2 separate regions of the Homo sapiens genome follow, and region 1 is linked to region 2. Evidence: promoter capture Hi-C in 16 types of primary human blood cells and fetal thymus (Javierre and others, 2016). All regions are on one chromosome and are shown on one strand. Each heading gives the region's core, a stretch centred on a gene start or on the middle of the fragment in contact. The rest is flanking DNA. Distances are from core to core; before and after follow the strand shown. Region 1 overlaps LOC105376218 (a long non-coding RNA gene). Region 2 holds the start of TXNDC8 (thioredoxin domain containing 8).

The links. Contacts are between HindIII fragments. The CHiCAGO score rates a contact against its expected background, and 5 or more counts as called.
Region 1: a fragment that was not itself captured here is called in contact with the fragment with the promoter of TXNDC8 in region 2 in 3 of 17 cell types (M2 macrophages, M1 macrophages and erythroblasts); the score reaches 5.7 in M2 macrophages.

The regions. Positions count from the first base shown.
Region 1 is chr9:110,614,208-110,618,224 of GRCh38, forward strand. LOC105376218 (a long non-coding RNA gene) reads left to right here. Exons shown (of 3, transcript XR_007061731.1): 1 at 1-3,045. Among named protein-coding and RNA genes, the nearest start is that of SVEP1, 36 kb to the left of the region's middle. RefSeq lists an enhancer at 3,082-3,251. The HindIII fragment of the contact is 551 bases long and covers 1,094-1,644 here.
Region 2 is chr9:110,335,835-110,339,683 of GRCh38, forward strand. TXNDC8 (thioredoxin domain containing 8) reads right to left here and starts at 2,029. Exons shown (of 6, transcript NM_001424031.1): 1 at 1,939-2,029. The coding sequence starts at 1,962. LOC124902245 (a long non-coding RNA gene) reads left to right here and starts at 370. Exons shown (of 2, transcript XR_007061728.1): 1 at 370-2,403; 2 at 2,691-2,808. The HindIII fragment of the contact is 4,418 bases long and covers 866-3,849 here.

The DNA.
Region 1 (4,017 bases), core at 119-2,618, 280 kb after region 2:
AACTAACTAAAAATGAAAATACAACATATCATAATTTATGAAATACATGAAAAGATCATTAAATGCTCATATTAAAAAAGAAGGAAGGTCTCAAATTTGTTAGCCTCTTAAGAAACTAGTAAAAAAAAAAAAAAAATCAAATTAAACCCCAAACAAGCAGAAGGGTAGAAATGATATATATAAAAACAGAAATAAATGAAGTGGAAAACAGAAAAATAGTAGAGAAAAATCAATGAAACCAAAAGGTGGTTCTCTAAGTAAAACTCTATGCAGACATTCTATGGGTGGTGGGTATTATAAATAAAGTTTCGGTACCGCAAAAGAAATAGCACTCGAATATAAAATTTTCTTTTTAATTATCAGCAAGGCAAGGTACTTCTATAGAAGGGTGCGCCCTTACAGACGGAGCAATGGTGAGTGCACACCTGGACAAGGGAGGGAAAGGGGTTCTTACCCCGACACACATGGCCTCTGATGCTGTGTCGTTCCCCTATTGGCTAGGGTTAGACCGCACAGGCTAAACTAATTCTGATTGGCTACTTTAAAGAGAGTGACAGGGTGAGTGGTTTGGGAGGAAAAATGGTTATGACAGAGCAGTTAATCGGAATGAGTGAGGGTGGAGTAGGTAATCGGAATCAGTCATGGTGGAGCAGGTAATCAGAATGAGTCAGGGTGGAGCAGGTGATTGAAATGAGTCAGAGTGGAGCAGGTAATCGAAAAAGGTTGCTTTATGAGGAAGTTAAGTTTAAAAGTAGAAGGCAAAGAATTGAACATACTGACATATTGATTCTTTGAAAAGAAATTTAGAACTCATATCTAACATGGGAGAGTGGGAAGAGGAAGAAGATACAAATGACCAGTACCAGGACTGAAAGGGAGATATCACTGCAGACCCTACAGACATTAAAAAGGCTAATAAGGGAATACAATAAACAATTTTATGCATACAAATTCAACAGTTTAGATGAGATGGACAAATTCCTTGGAAATTATAAATGCCAAAAGTCACCCCAAACTGAATTTTTAGTGACTGGAGGCATTTATCTCAGTGGACTCTCCAGACTTTATTCAAAGCCATTGCCTGCTTCCATCAAGCTTAGTCTTGAATCTTTACCAATGTTTGATTTATTCCTCTTACTTTTTTTTCTATTAACTTTGAATACCATCCCTCCTCCTTTCCAAGACTTTATTTATTGTGAGTGATAATTGACATAACCTTCAGGAACCTCAGAAACCTTAGGCATCTGCAGAAACATTTTGAAGCATATCAGACTAGCCTATCTTTCTAGAAACCCGATTCCCATTCCCCTCTGCCAAACCCCTCAGCGGCGATGTGTATACTTTGTATTAGTGCATATTCAGGAAGGTTCAAAGCACTTGTCTGCTACTCTTTGCATGGCCACACCCTCAGTCAAGGGCCTTTCTGCTTCCAGCATCATTACAGATGGATTTGAGGCTTTGGGCTATCTCCAGGGGAGCCATCTCCTCCAGGTTTTTGTTCCCTTTTCTGACTCAGAACTTAACCATTCTGGCAAAACTTTCTGTGGTGTGGCCATAGTTACAGTACAGCGTTTGCATTCTATGGGTCTTACAACACTATCCCCCAAATCCACCAATTTTCAGTAGCATGTAGCTTGTCTCATAAGCTTTATTTCCTGCTTTAAAGGATGAACAGTCCTCAGAGGAACCAAGTTCCTTGCCCAAATAATTTTGGCAAGGCTAAGACACTGAAGGACATCTATACGCCTTGTTTTCTCATACATCTTAGGCCTGTAAATTCTGGTTTATGGGTTCACATCCAGAGTCCCTCCTTTCTTTCCAGCTTTCCAATTAGTTTCTGTTAATTTATATGGTAGAAAATACATATTTCAAAGACGTAGTTCTTAGCTCTGTCTCAAAGTGCTTAAGCAGTTTTTATCAATTTCTTCTTATTTGGGAGTGGTATCCCCAAGCTAATACCGCCTGTGAGGGAAAAATATATACTCTTAGGCAACATTTTGCTAGTAGCTTGATAATCATAAGAGTGTCTTCTTGCTAGCAATATTTTGAGTACAACAGCAACAGAGTGTGCAATGGATTCACTGGTTAAGCCAAAAAGTTATAATGTTTGAACCTCCCAAGGGCCACCTCCATATTTAATATGAATTTCTTTAAACCACCAGAGCTGGGCCTCATTTCTCCCATACTCTGTGGGAGTTCTGACTTTCATCCAAGATCTTCCCTATGACTTTAAGAGCAGAAAGACATGGTCCTTGTGGTGTCTCCCAAACTGGACTCCTCTTAGTTACAAGTGGACTATGACTGACTTATTAAAATGATCCTCATCTTTCCAGAAACACTTGAATGCTGCCACCAGTATATTTTTTAGCTGAGACCTTCCTCTTCCTTTTTTCCCCATAACCAGAATCTGTGGTCTGTGCTAACATTGCTTCTCCATGAAAATTTCACTCCCACTCCACTCTTTCTACCTTTCTGCAGATGCCTGCACTTTCACCGCAAATCATGAAATGATTACATATTTTTAACAGCATTATTGAGATTAAATTTATTTACCATAAAGCTCACCCAGGTAGCAGTGGCTGCCAGCTATACCCTTTCATAGAATTAGCCTTTTCTTTAGGCTTTGCTCTTCTCAAAACAAATACTTCCCTTTTTGTTCTCTTGTTTCCTCTTGTAAGTCCCTAGGATTATTAAACATAGGGCTTGAATTTCACTTTGAAATGTTTTCCACGTTTGTGGTAATAATGTCACCTGAGGGTTTCTACTAGATTAAGTAAAGGAAGAAACAGAGTGGGAGGGGAATGAAGTGTGACAAACTCTCTTATAAAAGATAAGGCAAAAATGGCAGTCAATTATTGTTTCTGATAAATGTAATGTCATCCAATAATTTATAGTAATTCTGAGAACTATAGCCAGTAAAATGAATTTGCATAGTCTGTCTTCTTTAGGACACTGATTTTCAAACTTGAATGCACACTGGAATCACCCGAGGAATTTAAAAAAACACCGACACCTGGATCCCACACAAGGACCCTGATTTAAATGGTATGAATTGCAACCTGAGCATCAAGATTTTTTAAAGTTCCCTAGGTGATTCTATTGTGCTACGAAGTGACTCTTTTACTGCAAACTTGTTAGCATGATCAGAATCACCAGGGGAGTTTGATAAAATAGATTGCTAGAGTTTTTGATTCAGTACATTTGGGTGAGACCAGAGAATTTCAAGTTCTAGCAAATTTTTGGCTAAAACTGATGCTATTTTTCTGGAGACTATATCTTGAGAATCACTGCTTTAGAGCACTTTAATATGCAAATGAATCACCTGAGGATTCTGTTAAAAGGCAGTTTTGATTCAGTAGATATGGAACTGGACCTGAAATTCTGCATTTCTAATAAGCTCTTAAGTTATGCCAGTGCTGCTGATCCATGGATCACACTTTAAACAGCAAAAGATTAGAGTACAGAGGTTAACAATTATAATTAGAGAATACAGTAAATAAATTTTATTTTGTAAAAATATTGAGAAAAAAATTAGCACCAAAGCACCAATTTAAAGGATATTTTATTCCTTAATTTCCATATTATTACATGGATACATGATTTTTTAAAATTCCATGATCTTTGAGAAATTAACAAAATATTTTGGAAATGTTGTATCATGAGGAATTCAAAATTACTCTCTTTTTTTAAGGTAAAGGTGTCAATATTCAAGAATGCCCCCCAAATCATTGAATGATTACATATTTTAACAGCTTTATTGAGATATAATTTACTCATTTGAAGTGTACAATTTTATGGTTTTCAGTATCTTTTCATCATCACAAAAGAAAACTCATTGTTCATCACTCCCCATTTTTCTACTATCTGAGTCCTAGGCAGTAACTAAGCTGCTTTCTGCCTCCATAAGTTGCCTATTCCGGACATATCATATAAATGGGATCACACAATACGCAGTCTTTTGTTCCTTCATTTATCGTAACACTTGCTTTTCCATGATATAATCCCATCAACATTATA
Region 2 (3,849 bases), core at 779-3,278:
ATTCCCACTATGGATGGGTTTAATCCATACAAATGACATGTGATACAGTTTGGCTGAGTCCCCACCCAAATCTCATCTTGAATTGTAGCTCCCATAATCCCCACATGTCATGGGAGAGACCTAGTGGGAGGTAAATGAATTATGGGGGTGGGTTTTTCCCATGCTGTTCTCATGACAGTGAGTCAGTCTAAAAATATCTGACGGTTTTATAAAGGGCAGTTCCCCTGCACACGCTGTCTTGCCTGCCGCCATGTCAGACATGCCTTTGCCCCTCCTTCGCCTTCACCATGATTGTGAGGTCTTCCCAGCCATGTGGAACCGTGAGTTCATTAGATCTTTTTTTCTTTATAAATTACCAAGTATTGGGCATTTCTTCATAGCAGTATGCAAATAGACTAATACAACATGCCTGCTCTATAATAGCCTTGACAATTATGTGGCTACTTTGTTTAGTTTCAATCAGGTGAAAGTGATGACTCAAAGAAGATGCACTCTCTTTCTTTATCAATATTCCTCTGGGAGGGAGTAACTAACTTTTCAGAGAACCTTGCCAAGCCTTTATTTCTCACTTGCTTCTGAAGTTGTAAGGTAGATGCTATCCTCACAAACTCCCAACACTCTTCACTTTCCAGTAGTTGTTGTTTGGGTGTGAGCTGGCCTAATTGGACCCATGAACTTGACTTGACTAAACTATCTGAAGGGAATACTCTCATAGTATAGGTATTTATTTAACATATGCGTATTGAGGCCTATACTATGCCAGCTACTGCACAAACTGCTAGGATACCACTGTGGACAAAAACAAAACAAAACAAAACAAAAACTAGGCATTCTGTCTCCATGGAGTTTACATTTTAGAATGGGAAGCTTACTATAAGGTCAATAGGTAATATTTGTAGTATATTAGTGCTAATTGCTAATAAAGAAAATAAAAAGAAAATGAAGTAGGAAGGAAGAATGGGGGTTGGATTACAACTGTAGTCTGGATGGCCAAGGTCAACCTCAAAGAGAAGGTGGCATCTGAATAAAGATGGGATGGAGATCAGGGCCTCTGGAAAGGTCCCTGGGGAGGAGATGAAAGGTCTTCTGAGGGAATAAGGCTCCAGGCTATTCTGTGACATCCCCAGAATATTAAAACAATAAGTGTCAAAAGCATTAGCAAATGTGTGATGTTTCAAAACATGTTCTTATGTCGAAGTTACAGGGCAGTACTCTCTTTCAATCTGGTCAGTGTCATTTTTGTGATCTGTATAGCCACCTTTGGGGAAAATGTCACAAGTCTAAATCTGAGGCTGCTGGTGGACATGAGGCTCAGGCCCCAAACCCCCTCCCCTCCTCCAGCTCTTGACTTCTTGTAATGAGGGCAGGCATCAGAAGGTCTGGGTTCTAATGCCCACACCACCTCTTAAACGAACTAGCCCTGAACCTCTCTTTTAGAGGCAATTTTCTCCTTTATAAATCAAGAATTATCTCTGTCCTATACATGAATTTAGATTTGTTGTGACAGCAACATTGGGCTGTTCCCAATTTTCCCACCCCATTCCACATCTGGGGTTTCTATTATTTTTCCTTGGATAAGAGAAAAGATGTGGACTTCCTTACTTCCATGGAATTTTCCAAGCACAACTGAGGTACGATCCATGGGATCAGATACAGGATGGGATGTACTAGGAGCTGGTCTGGGATTCACCTGAAGTCAGGCAGGAAATAAAAGTCCAGGAGGAAGAAAGCCCTTCTTTATCAATTTGACCCTTGGCTGCTTTTCTTGATAGTACCATCCCTCAAGGAACAAGATAAAGAACAAGAATTTAGAACTCTCCCCTTGCTACAATGCAATGATAGAATACTGGATAGAGAGAACACATTCTTAAAGTTTTTCAAATCTGTTCCCAAGATGTCCACATTTGAAATACTCAGTGAAGCCAAATAAATACTTGCCGTGTCTTTAATAATCTGTACCATGATTACACCAGGGAAGTGCTGATGAAAATCCCCTGTTGGTTTAGTTGGATCACTGTAGCTGTCTCCTATTTATTACAGTATCCTGCCTGGAATACATGGATAACTTCTCTATGACATCATTAAACATGTCATCTCAGAACCTGGAACTTTGGCAGACTTTGGATCCTATTTCACTTTTATGCCATGACTAGTTCATTTGTGGACAGCCAAGAATCAGAAAACTGAGGGCTTTATATGCAGAATCAGTAATGTGTTTGCTTTATTTTCATCTTTTATAACCTATTTCTAAATATCCTTCTCCCTTCTCTAATCCCTCCATCCCATCACCAAATGAGAAGTAAGCAGAGTAATATTAAATAGATGAGATTTTCACTTAAGAATTTGAAGATTTTGCTGTTGAGAAAAATACTAAAGTCTTAACCCTATAATAATGAGTTTCCTGTAAGTTTGATTTCATGAGTCATAAATTCCCTGAACTTTGTTATTTTGCTCTAATTATTTAGAGAGTAAAGAAATGTCACTTTTATGCTCTAGATCAAGGGTTGGCAAATGTTTTCTCTAAGGGAACAGATACTATTTTAGTTTTATGGGCCTCATACAGTCTTTGTTGCATGTTCCTTATGTTTTTGCAACCTTTAAAAAATGTAAAAACCATTCGCAGCTAGTAGGATGTACAAAGAACAGCAGCAGTTTGCTGACCCCTGCACTTGATGATTTGCCATTTTCAGAACTGATGTCAGAAAAATTCTGAACATGACCATGGCCAATGTTCTTCAAATCTACAGAGCAACAAGAACAACCAAAATGAGAAATAGTAGATTCTATAATAAAACAAAAATAGCAAAATCCTTCTTTCTGTTTTTCTATATATGCAGCTCTGGGCCTTCAATCATGTGTTGCATGAAAACTGTCAGATGGAGACAGTGGCTGCCTCTGTAGAGGTATTTGAAGTATGCATGTAACAAAATATCACATGTACCCCATAAATACGTAGAAGTATTATGTATTGATATGGTTTGGCTGTGTCCCCACTCAAATCTCATCTTGAATTGTAGCTCCCATAATTCCCAAGGGTTGTGGGAGGGACCGGTGGGAGATAATTGAATAATGGGGGCAGTTCTTCCATACTGTTCTCATGGTAGTGAATACATCTCATGAGATCTGATGGTTTTATAAGACGTTTCCCCATTTGCTTGGCTCTCATTCTCTCTTGCCTGCTGCCATGTAAGACGTGACTTTCACCTTCTGCCAGAATTGTGAGGCCTCCCCAGCCACATGGAACTGTGAATCTATTAAACCTCTTTTTCTTTATAAATTACCTAGACTTGGGTATGTCTTTATCAGCAACGTGAAAAGAGACTAATACACGTATTAACAAAAAAATTTTTTTTATTATAGTTTAAGTTTTAGGGTACATGTGCACAATGTGCAGGTTAGTTACAAATGTATACATGTGCCATGTTGGTGTGCTGCACCCAGTAACTCGTCATTTAACATTAGGTATATCTCCAAATGCTATCCCTCCTCCCTCCCCCCACCCCACAACAGGCCCCGGTGTGTGATGTTCCCCTTCCTGTGTCCATGTGTTCTCATTGTTCAATTCCCACCTATGAGTGAGAACATGCGGTGTTTGGTTTTTTGTCCTCGTGATAGTTTGCTGAGAATGATGCTTTCCAGCTTCATCCATGTCCCTACAAAGGACATGAACTCATCCTTTTTTATGGCTGCATAGTATTTCATGGTGTATATGTGCCACATTTTCTTAATCCAGTCTATCATTGTTGGACATTTGGGTTGGTTCCAAGTCTTTGCTATTGTGAATAGTGCCGCAATAAACATACATGTGCATGTGTCTTTATAGCAGCATGATTTATAATCCTTTGGGTA